4 separate regions of the Homo sapiens genome follow, and regions 1, 3 and 4 are each linked to region 2. The links are contacts of gene promoters, found by promoter capture Hi-C in human tissues and cell types (Jung and others, 2019). All regions are on one chromosome and are shown on one strand. The core of a region is centred on a gene start or on the middle of the fragment in contact, and the rest is flanking DNA. Distances in the headings are between cores, read along the strand shown.

What was found. The method cuts DNA at HindIII sites, captures the fragments that hold promoters and counts their contacts. A contact is called where the count stands out against the background at its distance.
Region 1: a fragment that was not itself captured here is called in contact with the fragment with the promoter of C8orf76 in region 2 in 1 of the 25 tissues and cell types used here (adrenal gland).
Region 3: a fragment that was not itself captured here is called in contact with the fragment with the promoter of C8orf76 in region 2 in 3 of the 25 tissues and cell types used here (aorta, bladder and hippocampus).
Region 4: a contact is called between a fragment that was not itself captured here and the fragment with the promoter of C8orf76 in region 2, in 3 of the 25 tissues and cell types used here (aorta, dorsolateral prefrontal cortex and mesendoderm cells).

Annotation. Positions count from the first base shown.
Region 1 is chr8:123,382,673-123,385,372 of GRCh38, forward strand. The region is part of intron 1 of ATAD2 (ATPase family AAA domain containing 2); the gene reads right to left. Among named protein-coding and RNA genes, the nearest start is that of ATAD2, 12 kb to the right of the region's middle. The HindIII fragment of the contact is 6,595 bases long and covers 1-2,700 here.
Region 2 is chr8:123,240,083-123,242,782 of GRCh38, forward strand. It overlaps C8orf76 (chromosome 8 open reading frame 76), which reads right to left and starts at 1,295. Exons shown (of 6, transcript NM_032847.3): 1 at 1,148-1,295. The coding sequence starts at 1,264. The region is part of intron 2 of ZHX1-C8orf76 (ZHX1-C8orf76 readthrough); the gene reads right to left. RefSeq lists an enhancer at 1,081-1,581 and a silencer at 1,082-1,201. The HindIII fragment of the contact is 18,562 bases long and covers 1-2,700 here.
Region 3 is chr8:123,009,654-123,012,353 of GRCh38, forward strand. The region is part of intron 1 of LOC124902013 (a long non-coding RNA gene); the gene reads left to right. Among named protein-coding and RNA genes, the nearest start is that of DERL1, 31 kb to the right of the region's middle. The HindIII fragment of the contact is 7,383 bases long and covers 1-2,700 here.
Region 4 is chr8:123,082,000-123,084,699 of GRCh38, forward strand. It overlaps TBC1D31 (TBC1 domain family member 31), which reads left to right. Exons shown (of 22, transcript NM_145647.4): 3 at 703-818; 4 at 2,163-2,341. Among named protein-coding and RNA genes, the nearest start is that of TBC1D31, 11 kb to the left of the region's middle. RefSeq lists a silencer at 1,010-1,304. The HindIII fragment of the contact is 4,593 bases long and covers 1-2,700 here.

The DNA of each region.
Region 1 (2,700 bases), core at 12-2,511, 140 kb after region 2:
GTGATCATTAAAAAGTCAAGAAACAACAGATGCTGGAGAGGAGGTGGAGAAATAGGCACAATTTTACACAGTTAGGAGTGTAAATTAGTTCAACCATTGTGGAAGACAGTGTGGCGATTCCTCAAGGATCTAGAACCAGAAATACCATTTGACCCAGCAATCCCATTATTGTGTATATACCCAAGGGATTATAAATCATTCTACTATAAAAACACATGCACACACATGTTCACTGCAGCACTATTTGCAATAACAAAGACTTGGAACCAACCCAAATGCCCATCAATGATAGACTGGATAAAGAAAATGTGGCACATATATACCATAGAAATACTATGCAGCCATAAAAAGGATGAGTTCATGTCATTTGCAGGGACATGGATGAAGCTGGAAGCCATCATTCTCAGCAAACTAACACAGGAACAGAAAACCAAACACTGCATGTTCTCACTCATAAGTGGGAGTTGAACAATGAGAACACATGGACACAGAGAGGGGAACACCATACACCAGGGCCTTTCGGGGAGTGGGGGGCATGAGGAGGGATAGCATTAGGAGAAATACCTAACGTAGATGACAGGTTGATGGGTGCAGCAAACCACCATGGCACATATATACCTATGTAACAAACCTGCACATTCTGCACATGTATCCCAGAACTTAAAATATAATTTTAAAAGTAAACAAAATTAAATAAAAAAAAAAAGTTCTATCTCTCACCCATTCTGAATTTCACTATTGCAGACACTTCAAGGTATTAAAAACTTTCATAAAGCCAAAGAAAAACACTGGTGTAGGTGTTAAGAAATTGAATGACAGCCGGGCATGGTGGCTCATGCCTGTAATCCCAGGACTTTGGGAGGCCGAGGCTGGCGGATCACCTGAGATTGGGAGTTCGAGACCAGCCTGACCAACATGGAGAAACCCTGTCTCTACTAAAAATACAAAAAATCAGCCGGGCGAGGTGGCGCATGCCTGTAATCCCAGCAACTTGGGAGGCTGAGGCAGGAGAATCACTAGAACCCAGGAGGCGGAGGTTGCGGTGAGCCGGGATCGTGCCATTGCACTCCAGCCTGGGCAATAAGAGCAAAATTCAGTCTCAAAAAAAAAAAAAGAAACTGAATGACTAGGCCAGGCGTGGTAGCTCACGCCTGTAATCCCAACACTTTGGGAGGCTGAGGCGAGGGGCTCATGAGGTCAAGAGATAGAGACCATTGTGGCTAACATGGTGAAATCACGTCTTTACTAAAAATACAAAATTAGCTGGGTGTGGTAGCACGTGCCTGTAATCCCAGCTACTTGGGAGGCTGAGGCAGGAGAATTGCTCGAACCTGGGAGGCAGAGGTTGCAGTGAGCTGAGATCATGCCACTGCACTGCAGCCTGGTGACAGAGCGAGACTCCGTCTCAAAAAAAAAAAAAAAGAAAGAAAGAAAAAAACTGAATGACTAAAGAAAGGCAACAAATACTTTCCCTTATTAGGTGGTTTTCAATTCTCTGCTTTCAATAAAATTGAAAGGAGACCTAATAAAGCTAAAAGAACATTAAAAATCATTTTTGGCAAGTGACTTTTGATGTATAACAAAAAAAAACTGGGTGGCACTGCTAAGCATAACTCCTTTTATTACTGTCTACTTATTTATATGAACAATACTTACATTTATAAAAACAATGCAACCGATACACAAAAACACAGTCTTGATTTTTTGTTTGTTTGTTTTGCTTTAGGAGCTTTTAATGCTTAGACTGAAAAAGATCACAGGGTAGATTTTTCATGGTCATTGATCCATCTCTGACAAGGCAAGAATTTTCCCTTCACTCTGGTCACAGGTAGAAGTCCAGACTCTCCCCTAGCAATGTCTTCAGAATGGAGGGGCTCCCTTTGCAGTGCAGTGCCTCCCCAACCCAGAGGCAAGAAAGCAAGAGTATGTAATAAGCACCCATGTGCCAGGCCCATGCAAGGCATTTTCAAGAGAACACTGTCTTTAGCAATAACTATGATACATCCACAGACACATGAACTAATTGGGTGGGTAAGGGAACTTCAACCATGTGAGATCTCCTAAAATCTTACTTTTCTTGCTCACAAAATTGGAACGATACAAAGATTAGCGAAACAATTTTTTAAAATCTTACTTTCTAAGTTTTATCATTTCAAATCCAAGTAGATAATATGTTCTTGTTTTGATTGACAGAGCATTAATTCTAACAACTCTACCCACAAACATTTTATTTCTTGGCGCTCAGAAGCCCACTAAGGCTCAGACATTTTTCTTAAACTGATTTCATGTCCCATTCAAGTGTTGTCTACAACCTGCATAACCAGTACTTTGTACAACTTGTTTATATTTTAATTGTATATAAACGTTTTTAAAGAAATATGTAATATTTTTATTTAGGTACCTCCAAACTTGAATTCACCTGTGTAAAACATTTTAAAAGGATACAATTCTCTTTTGAGTACCATTACAGCTATACAGGTTTCCACTGGTTCTATTTTTCTACTGTTATTGATGAGCATGCTAACACTGACTGTCTTACATATAGTAGACATTTCAAATAAATGGCTTGTATAGAAAAAAATTTCACATCACCATAAAATGCAGTGGGTTAAGTGGACTGAAAATGCAAATTAAAAGAGAGAAAAAAAAGAATCAAGGTAAACTTTGCTAAGAGTTTGCTCATGTTATTATTTTTAAATG
Region 2 (2,700 bases), core at 45-2,544:
CATATACATTATCTCATTTCACTCCCACGATAACTCTGTGAGCCAGCATGTATTATTTTTCTGAAGGGACAAATAAGGAGCTGACACCTTCAAGGCAAGTGGTTAAAGCCAACACTGGAATTCAAGAGTCCTATCTCATAACCAGAGTTTTTTTAATGTTCTGCCACATGATTTCCAAGCCCAATCCCTGTTTTGAGTCTACATGATCCAGGGCTGAAGGTAACTTTGAAAGATCGTATGTGATAAGGAGAAAATGCAACTGAAATAACCAAAAACACAATTCAGTAATTATCGAGTGCCTGGCATCTTGTCAGTACAATTGTGAGGAACGAATGAGACAGTATATGCGAAGGAACCCACCACAGTGCCCGGAACACTTCCGTATTTTCCATAAATATTAGTTTTGACTGATGAACTATTTACACTCATGAAAGAATAGGAAGTAATACTCTACTAATTCAAAAATATTCGCGGAGTCACTATTATTAATAAAAACTGTTAGGCACTGCCAAGGGCATCAAGAACCCATGCTGGTGCGATCATTTAGCACTCCGGGTCTCAGGACTTTGTGGGAATACTGACAAGTGCTTTAAGTAGAAGCTAAATAGAGGGAAGGGGGCCAAAGACAAAAATATTTGGCTGGAAGACGAAATCAGAAAAGACTTCCTAGAGGAGATGACATTTAAGATGTGCCTTGAAAAACGGATATAACTGAAGGACTTTAACCATCAGCGCGGGGTTGGTACGGGCAGGGGGAGCTCGCCGAAGAGGGAGGGGAGAGTGGGTTTGCCGGAGGTCACCGTTTTGGGAGGCCTGACTGCCCAGCTGTAAGAGCAGTGAAGACAAACGGGAGGTACCGGAGATTGCAGGGCAGGGGCGTTGAGACCAGCCGGCAGCAGCCAGGCCGGCCAAATGCCAAGTGGGAGTCAAGCCGCTTACAACGCGGGGATTCTCGCCCATGGACCCGGAATGGGGCCTGGGAAAGCCGCTTCCCCGTGGAGGAGGAGGGACGGCGGGGGACGCGGCGGGCGCTGGAGCCTGCCAGGGTTTGCGTTCGCGCGGACGGAGGGGCCGAGGCCGGGGCCGGGGCCCCGCGGAGGGCGAGGCCTGGGGCCCGGGATAAGGCGAAGAGGCCCCAGCTTCTCACCTGCGGCTCGCAGAGCTTGGCGCAGTAGGACGCGGGCGGTCCTGACCGCCGCTCCGGCCTCTCCTCGAACACCGAGTCCTCGAACTCGCCGCCGAACAACCAGCACCCGGAATCCATCTCGCGCCCGCGGCGGGGGCAACGAGGAAGCGGGGCCCGCCGGAAAAGGCGGGGCTTCCACGGCCCAGAGCGCGGCACGCTGGGACTTGTAGTCTTTGAGGGCGACGCGGGGACGTGGCCGCTGCTGGTTGGGAGTAGTGGTTGAGCTGAGATGATTATCTGACCCACTAACTGACCGAACCCCAGGACGGAGGTTTTGACTTCTCTGTGTCAGGAGATGGACAGAATGATCCTTACCTGCACGCATCAAAAAGCACGCTGGCCCCAGAGTAGCTGTTTAAAACTCGCAGGTACCTTTTTAAAAATTAAAATAAGAGGCCGGGCGCGGTGGCTCAAGCCTGTAATCCCAGCACTTTGGGAGGCCAAGGTGGGCGGATCACTTGAGGTCGGGAGTTCGAGACCAGCCTGACCAACATTGAGTAACCAGGTCTGTACTGAAAATACAAAAATTAGCCGGCCGTAGTGGCGCGCGCCTGTAATCCCAGCTACTCGGTAGGCTGAGGCAGGAGAATCGCTTGAACCCGGGAGGCGGAGGTTGCGGTGAGCCAAGATCGCATCATTGCACTCCAGCCTAGGCAACAAGAGTGAAACTTCGTCTCAAAATAAAAAATAAAATAAAATAAAATAAATAAAATAATTTCGAGACAGGGTCTCGCTCTGTCGCCCAGGTTGGAGTGCAGTGGTGAGATCATGGCTCACTGCAGCCTCGAACTCCCAGACTCAACCTATCATCCCGCCTCAGTCCCCCAAGTAGCTGGGGCTACAGGCGCGCGCCACCATGACCGTCTAACTTGTGTATTTTTTGTGGAGACTGGGTTTCCCTACGTTGCCCAGGCTGGTCTCGAACCTGATCTCAAGCGATCCGCCCACCTCGTTCTCCCAAAGTGCTGGGATTATAGGCGTGAGCCACTAAGCCCGGTGCAAGTACCAATTGTCAACCACTGTGCATTCCCGTCACTGTGTTAAGCACATTTTTTCTTTTCGGCTAACAACCACCTTATGAAAGCCAAAGTGATTCCCATTTTGCAAATCCTATTTTGAAGATATTGGAGTTTGGAGAGGTTAAGTAACTTGTTAAGTTTCGGTCATTATGTGGCTGAAACTTGGGAAATACAGAAATGAATGCGTACTCTCCGTGCTTCCGGACAAGAGACACTACCACCAATAACAAAGACCGGAGTCATTCACGCATTTATGAAAGAAAAGACACAGAAATATACCGTGGGAGGCTAGATCAGGGAGCATTCATTCGACCTGGAGAACACCAAATCTCAAAATTCTAAGACTAACATTTACTACAATTCTTATACTTTTAAGATATTTCTTGACTCTAGAAAGTAAAGATTGTTGACAAAATGCTGGCCAATACTGTACAGCACAATATTGTGCCATATTACACAGTAGGAAATAAACATAAAGGTTTTCCCCGATTTTTT
Region 3 (2,700 bases), core at 201-2,700, 230 kb before region 2:
ATTAGCAGATTACACAGTGCAGATAGAAGCTGCTTTGCTGCTCATTTATTTTAAGTATTTTAATTTTGAGTCCATTCTTCCCATTATCTCTAACCTGTTCTAATATCCTGTTTCAGGGGATTATGATTCCCTTAGATGAACAACAAAAAAATCATTCAATGCTCCTGGGAGACTTGGCCATTATTAGCTCTCTCCCTAAGCAGGACAAATTCCTACACAGGCCAAATTTCAGTTCAGTGCAAGAAACACTTAAGCACCTGTATGTGGCAGGCCTGTGCTACGCACTGGGAAACAGCTGTAAATAAGATGCAGTCCCTGTCCTGAGGATGGTTACAAGCCATGGGAGGGATATTAAGCAAATGATCACAGGTGGAACAAGCGTCAAAGGCAGAGATCAGGGTGCCAGTGGCTACGTGAGAAGACATTTCACCTTGCCTGCAGGTCTAATAGCCCTCTCCTTGATGAAATGACATTTAAACTGGGCCCTAAATGCTGGTGATAGAATCAAGAGAATTGCTTCTTCTTCACTGGGGCCTTCTGCAAAGCTGTTCACATTTCAGGAAGACATCATATTTTAAAAGTTCATTTTCATTCAAGTTGATGGATTTGGAGCTCAATGTTTTTTCCACAGAAATATACTTACAAATAGTGGCTAGGTTTCCAGGTTAGGATGCCAGCACCTAATTATCTACAATGGCTGCAGCACCAACAGCCAGAAATAGCATTTTACCCAGCTTGTGTGTGAAACACAGATCCCAGCCCTGATCACCAATGGAAACCCCTTCGAGAAAGCCCTCCTTTTCCTCACTGAGTGCCAGCAATTCTCTGTCTGGGGGGAGGTCCCTCCAATCCAGTCCCCAATCCCACTGCCTTGGTTTAAACCAACTCTTCCCTTAAACCTGCATCACAGCAACCAACACAAAATGTGGTCACTATCTCATTTCTCCTCTTTCCAGCCTTCTCCCTCTACTCCCCACGGGGCAGCCAGCTACTTTTTTGTTTTTTTGTTTTGAGAGGAAGTTTCACTCTTGTTGCCCAGGCTGGAGTGCAGTGGTACGATCTCGGCTCACTGCAACCTCCGCCTTCCAGGTTCAAGCGATTCTCCTGCCTCAGCCTCCCGATTAGCTGGGATTACAGGCATCTGCCATCAGGCCCAGCTAATTTTTTGTGTTTTTAGTAGAGATGGGGTTTTGCCATGTTGGCCAGGCTGGTCTCGAACTCCTGATCTCAGGTGATCCACCAGCCTCGGCCTCCCAAAGTGCTGGAATTACAGGTGTGAGACAGCACACCTGGCTGCCAGCTACTTTTTAAAGACCAAACATGAAGGCCTTTCAATGTTCCCCACTGCCCGCAGATTGAAGTTCAAGCAATCACACAAAACGATTTTCCTGATACAAGCCCCAATCTATCTTCCCAACCCCTTTCCCTGCCACTCCCTACCTGTATTCTACAGGTCCAGGCACACGGTTCTCTCTTCCCAAGTTTCTGCTCTTGCTGCTGCTGTTTCTAAATCCACCTAGAACAAGTGGCTTCCTCCATCTTGACCAGAACTGTCCATCAATCTTTCAAGACCTAGCCTCTCATCCAAGAAATTTACTTCCTTTTATTCTGGTAGTTTGGTGAATTGTATTATAATGACTTGTTTGCTTATTAAACAAATATGAGTACCTACAATGGGCCAAGCTGACTGCCTCAGTAGAAAGGACGCATCGTGAAGACAGAGACATCGTCTATTTGCATCTGCTTTGGCTTCCTTCACTGAAAAGCCACAACAGAGTTGGGTTCATATCCTGTCTTTGGCACCTTCTAGCTTTTTTTTTTTTTTTTTTTTGATACGGAGTTTTGTTCTTGTTGCCTAGGCTGGAGTGCAATGGCACAATCTCGGCTCACCGCAACCTCCACCTCCTGGGTTCAAGTCATTCTCCTGCCTCAGCCTCCCGAGTAGCTGGAATTACAGGTATATGCCACCACGCACAGCTAATTTTTGTATTTTTAGTAGAGATGGGGTTTCTCCATGTTGGTCAGGCTGGTCTCGAACTCCCAACCTCAGAAGGTCCACCCACCTCAGCCTCCCAAAGAGCTGGGATTACAGGCGTGAGCCACCGTACCTGGCCGCTGCCTGATTTTAATCAAGGGACTTGAAGCTTAAGTTTCCTCATCTGGAAAATGGGGATAATACTATTTCACAAGTTTGTTTAAACACAAGTTCCCAAATCCAGCTGAACGTCAGAATCAACTTCAAAAGTATGTAGAATGGGAATGAGCCAAGATACCTGCATTTTTTTAAAATCTCAAGTTTAATGCTTATGTATAGCCAGATTTTAAAAACCGTAAATTGGAGGCTTTTTCATAAAGTACCTGGCACATTAATGCTCAGTGCCCAGGTGTGCCCCGAACACGGCGTTCCTACTGGAACAAGCAGAGTTGATGTGAGATAAGGGGACCGTACGGGAAGGAGCCTAGGTTTAAACCACACATATAAATCGTGGGAAAGGCTGGGCACCGTGGCTCAGGCCTGTAATCCCAGCACTTTGAGAGGCCGAGGCAGGTGACTTGCCTGAGCTCAGGAGTTTAAGACCAGCCTGGGCCACATGGTGAAACTCCATCTCGAACAAAAATACAAAAAATTAGCCGAGTGTGGTGGCACACACTTGTGGTCCCAGCTACTCAGGAGGCTGAGGTGGGAGGATCATCTGAACC
Region 4 (2,700 bases), core at 18-2,517, 160 kb before region 2:
GCTCCTAGAAAAATTTAAATTACGTATGTAGCCCACGTTGTATTTCTTTCAGACAGCATGACTCTAGATGAGTTTCACAAGGGCCTTAAACAACATGTTTAAAAGCAGGTTTATTATTTCCTACCCCCAAACTTATTCCTCTTTTGCCTAAGTTCAAAAGCTTAATTTTTTGTAAATTAAACTCCAGCTAGGTGCCCAGTACTCTACTGAGCACTCAACATGTATTCTTTCATTTAGTCATCACAACAGCCCTGTATCTATTCTTATCTTCATTTTACGCAAGATCGGGTCCTGATTCCCTCTTCTTCACTCCATGTTGAATCCATACCGAACCTCTGCTTGGCTTCTGAAACCTCTCCTATTTATGCTCCCATATCTCTGGCTGAGATTTTCTGTAGTAACTTTCTTAGTGATCTCCTTTATTCCTTGTCCCTCTATCCATTTGCCATTGCTGCCAGGATCGTCTTCCTAAAACACATACCTGATTGTGATTCTGCTGTGCTAACACTTACAGTGGTTTCCTATTCTGATAACATCCAAACTCCTTAATATGGCACATAGCACCCTTCATAATCTATTTTTGGCCTAAAATGGTAGCTCATTTTTCTGGGTTTCATTTTCTTCGTCTCTACGGACTCCTTCCACATGGAATTTGTAATTATTGGAAGAATTTGTGATACTAATGCAATGATCTCTTAATAGGTTCAATCTTGTTCAGCGAACAGCACAAGCTTGCACAGCTCTGGCCTTTAATCTTCGTAGGAAATCTGAATTCCTTGTGGCATTAGCTGATTATTCTATTAAATGTTTTGATACAGGTAAGAAGTTCTCCTATTTTTCTTTTGAAGCAGAGTAAAATATAAACTGAAGAACTGCAAGAACTTTATCACTCTGTACAGCTTGAGGGGGCAGTCCCCATGACAGCCCTCCCTTCAGACACTAGGTGCAAGCTGAGGGTCCTAGAAACAGCCTCACTTTAGATCAGTTGACTACAAAGTCAGGGTTTCCTGACTACTGTCAGGTTTGATAATTTACTAGAACAACTCACAGAACTCAGGAAAGCACTACACTTAATGACAGTTTTAATATAACAAAAGGATACAAAGTATAACTAGCCAAAGGAAGAGAAACATGGGGTGGAATTTGGGAGGCTTCCAAAAGGGAAGCCTCCATTGTCCTCAGGGATGCATTGCCCTCTCAGATGACACTCCCAGCATTGGTGTGTGGCTGGCCATCTGCGCCAAGCACTGTTGACGCAGGGAGTCGACCCAAGCTTTGGTGTTTTTGGTGTTTTCCCTACCAAGCTGTTTTCTCTGCTTACAAAGATACACACAAGTACATCAGAATCAAGTTTAAAAACCAAATGTATTATCAGTATCTCACACTGATAAACCTGTTCCTCCTCATGTATTTATTATTTTTTTTTATTTTTTATTTTTTTAGAGATAGGGTTTTGTCATGTTGCCCAGGTTGGTCTCGAACTTCTAGGCTGAAGTGATTCACCTGCCTCAGCCTCCCAAAGTGCTGAGATTACAGGCGTGAGCCACCGCCCGGCCCCTCCTCATGTATTTCCTACCTCCGCTAACAGTATCACCATCTGCTTAAATAACTAAGCTGGAACCACTGGAGCCTTCACTTCTCTTATATCTCAGGACATCAATTTGATCACTAATATTTTTTGTTTTTCTCCTTAGTAGCTCTTGGATTTGTTCTTTTCTCCATTGCCTCTTTCTTAGTTGAGGCCCTCCATATCTCCTGTCTGAATTATTACAGCAACATATAAATTAGTCTTTCTTGTTCAATCTCTTCCCCTCCACCAGATATCCTCAAAGTGCTCTTTCTAAAACATAGACTAGATATGGTACTCTTTTACATAAAATTACCTGCAAGAGAAAGCCCAAACTCACTAGCATCAATTTTGAAGTTATTCTTCATCAAAGCCTTTGTCAGCCTTGTCTCCTACATGAATGAGATGTTGCTAACATGTTCCGTCATACACTTTATCAACTAGCCACAAGCTTCCATTTTTGTGGATATTAATGGAGGTGCCTCATATAATACCTAACCACCCATTGCATCAGTTCATCTATGGTGTTTATATGTAATGTTACTTCTAGACGTACAGTGTTTTACCTGGGTAACAATTTTACTTTTTACCACAGTCACCAAGGAGCTAGTTAGCTGGATGAGAGGACATGAATCATCAGTATTTTCGATCTCTGTGCATGCATCAGGGAAATATGCCATCACAACTTCTTCTGATACAGCACAATTATGGGACTTGGATACCTTTCAGAGAAAAAGAAAGCTGAATATTCGCCAGTCTGTGGGTATACAGAAGGTCAGTGAGGGGGTACATCTTGGTCTGTTGTGCTTCTCGGGCTAATTTCTTGGTCAACAGGATGTATAGATGATATAAGAGTAATGATTCACTTTGTCCTTGTAGCTCTGTAACTCAGCAACAAGCAAAGCAAAGTGGCCAACACAAAGATGTTGCCTATAGCTACAATTTATAACTTAGTGAGCTCTTTTCTAAAATTATAGCTATGTAACTTCAACTGTCCTAAGGCGAAAGTTATTTAGTTGATTGCTTTTGTTTTCATTTTTAACCCTCTGACATTTTATTATGAAAAATTTGAAACATGCAGTAGATTTGTGAGAATTTTTGAACACGTGTACATTCAGTATCTAGATTCTACC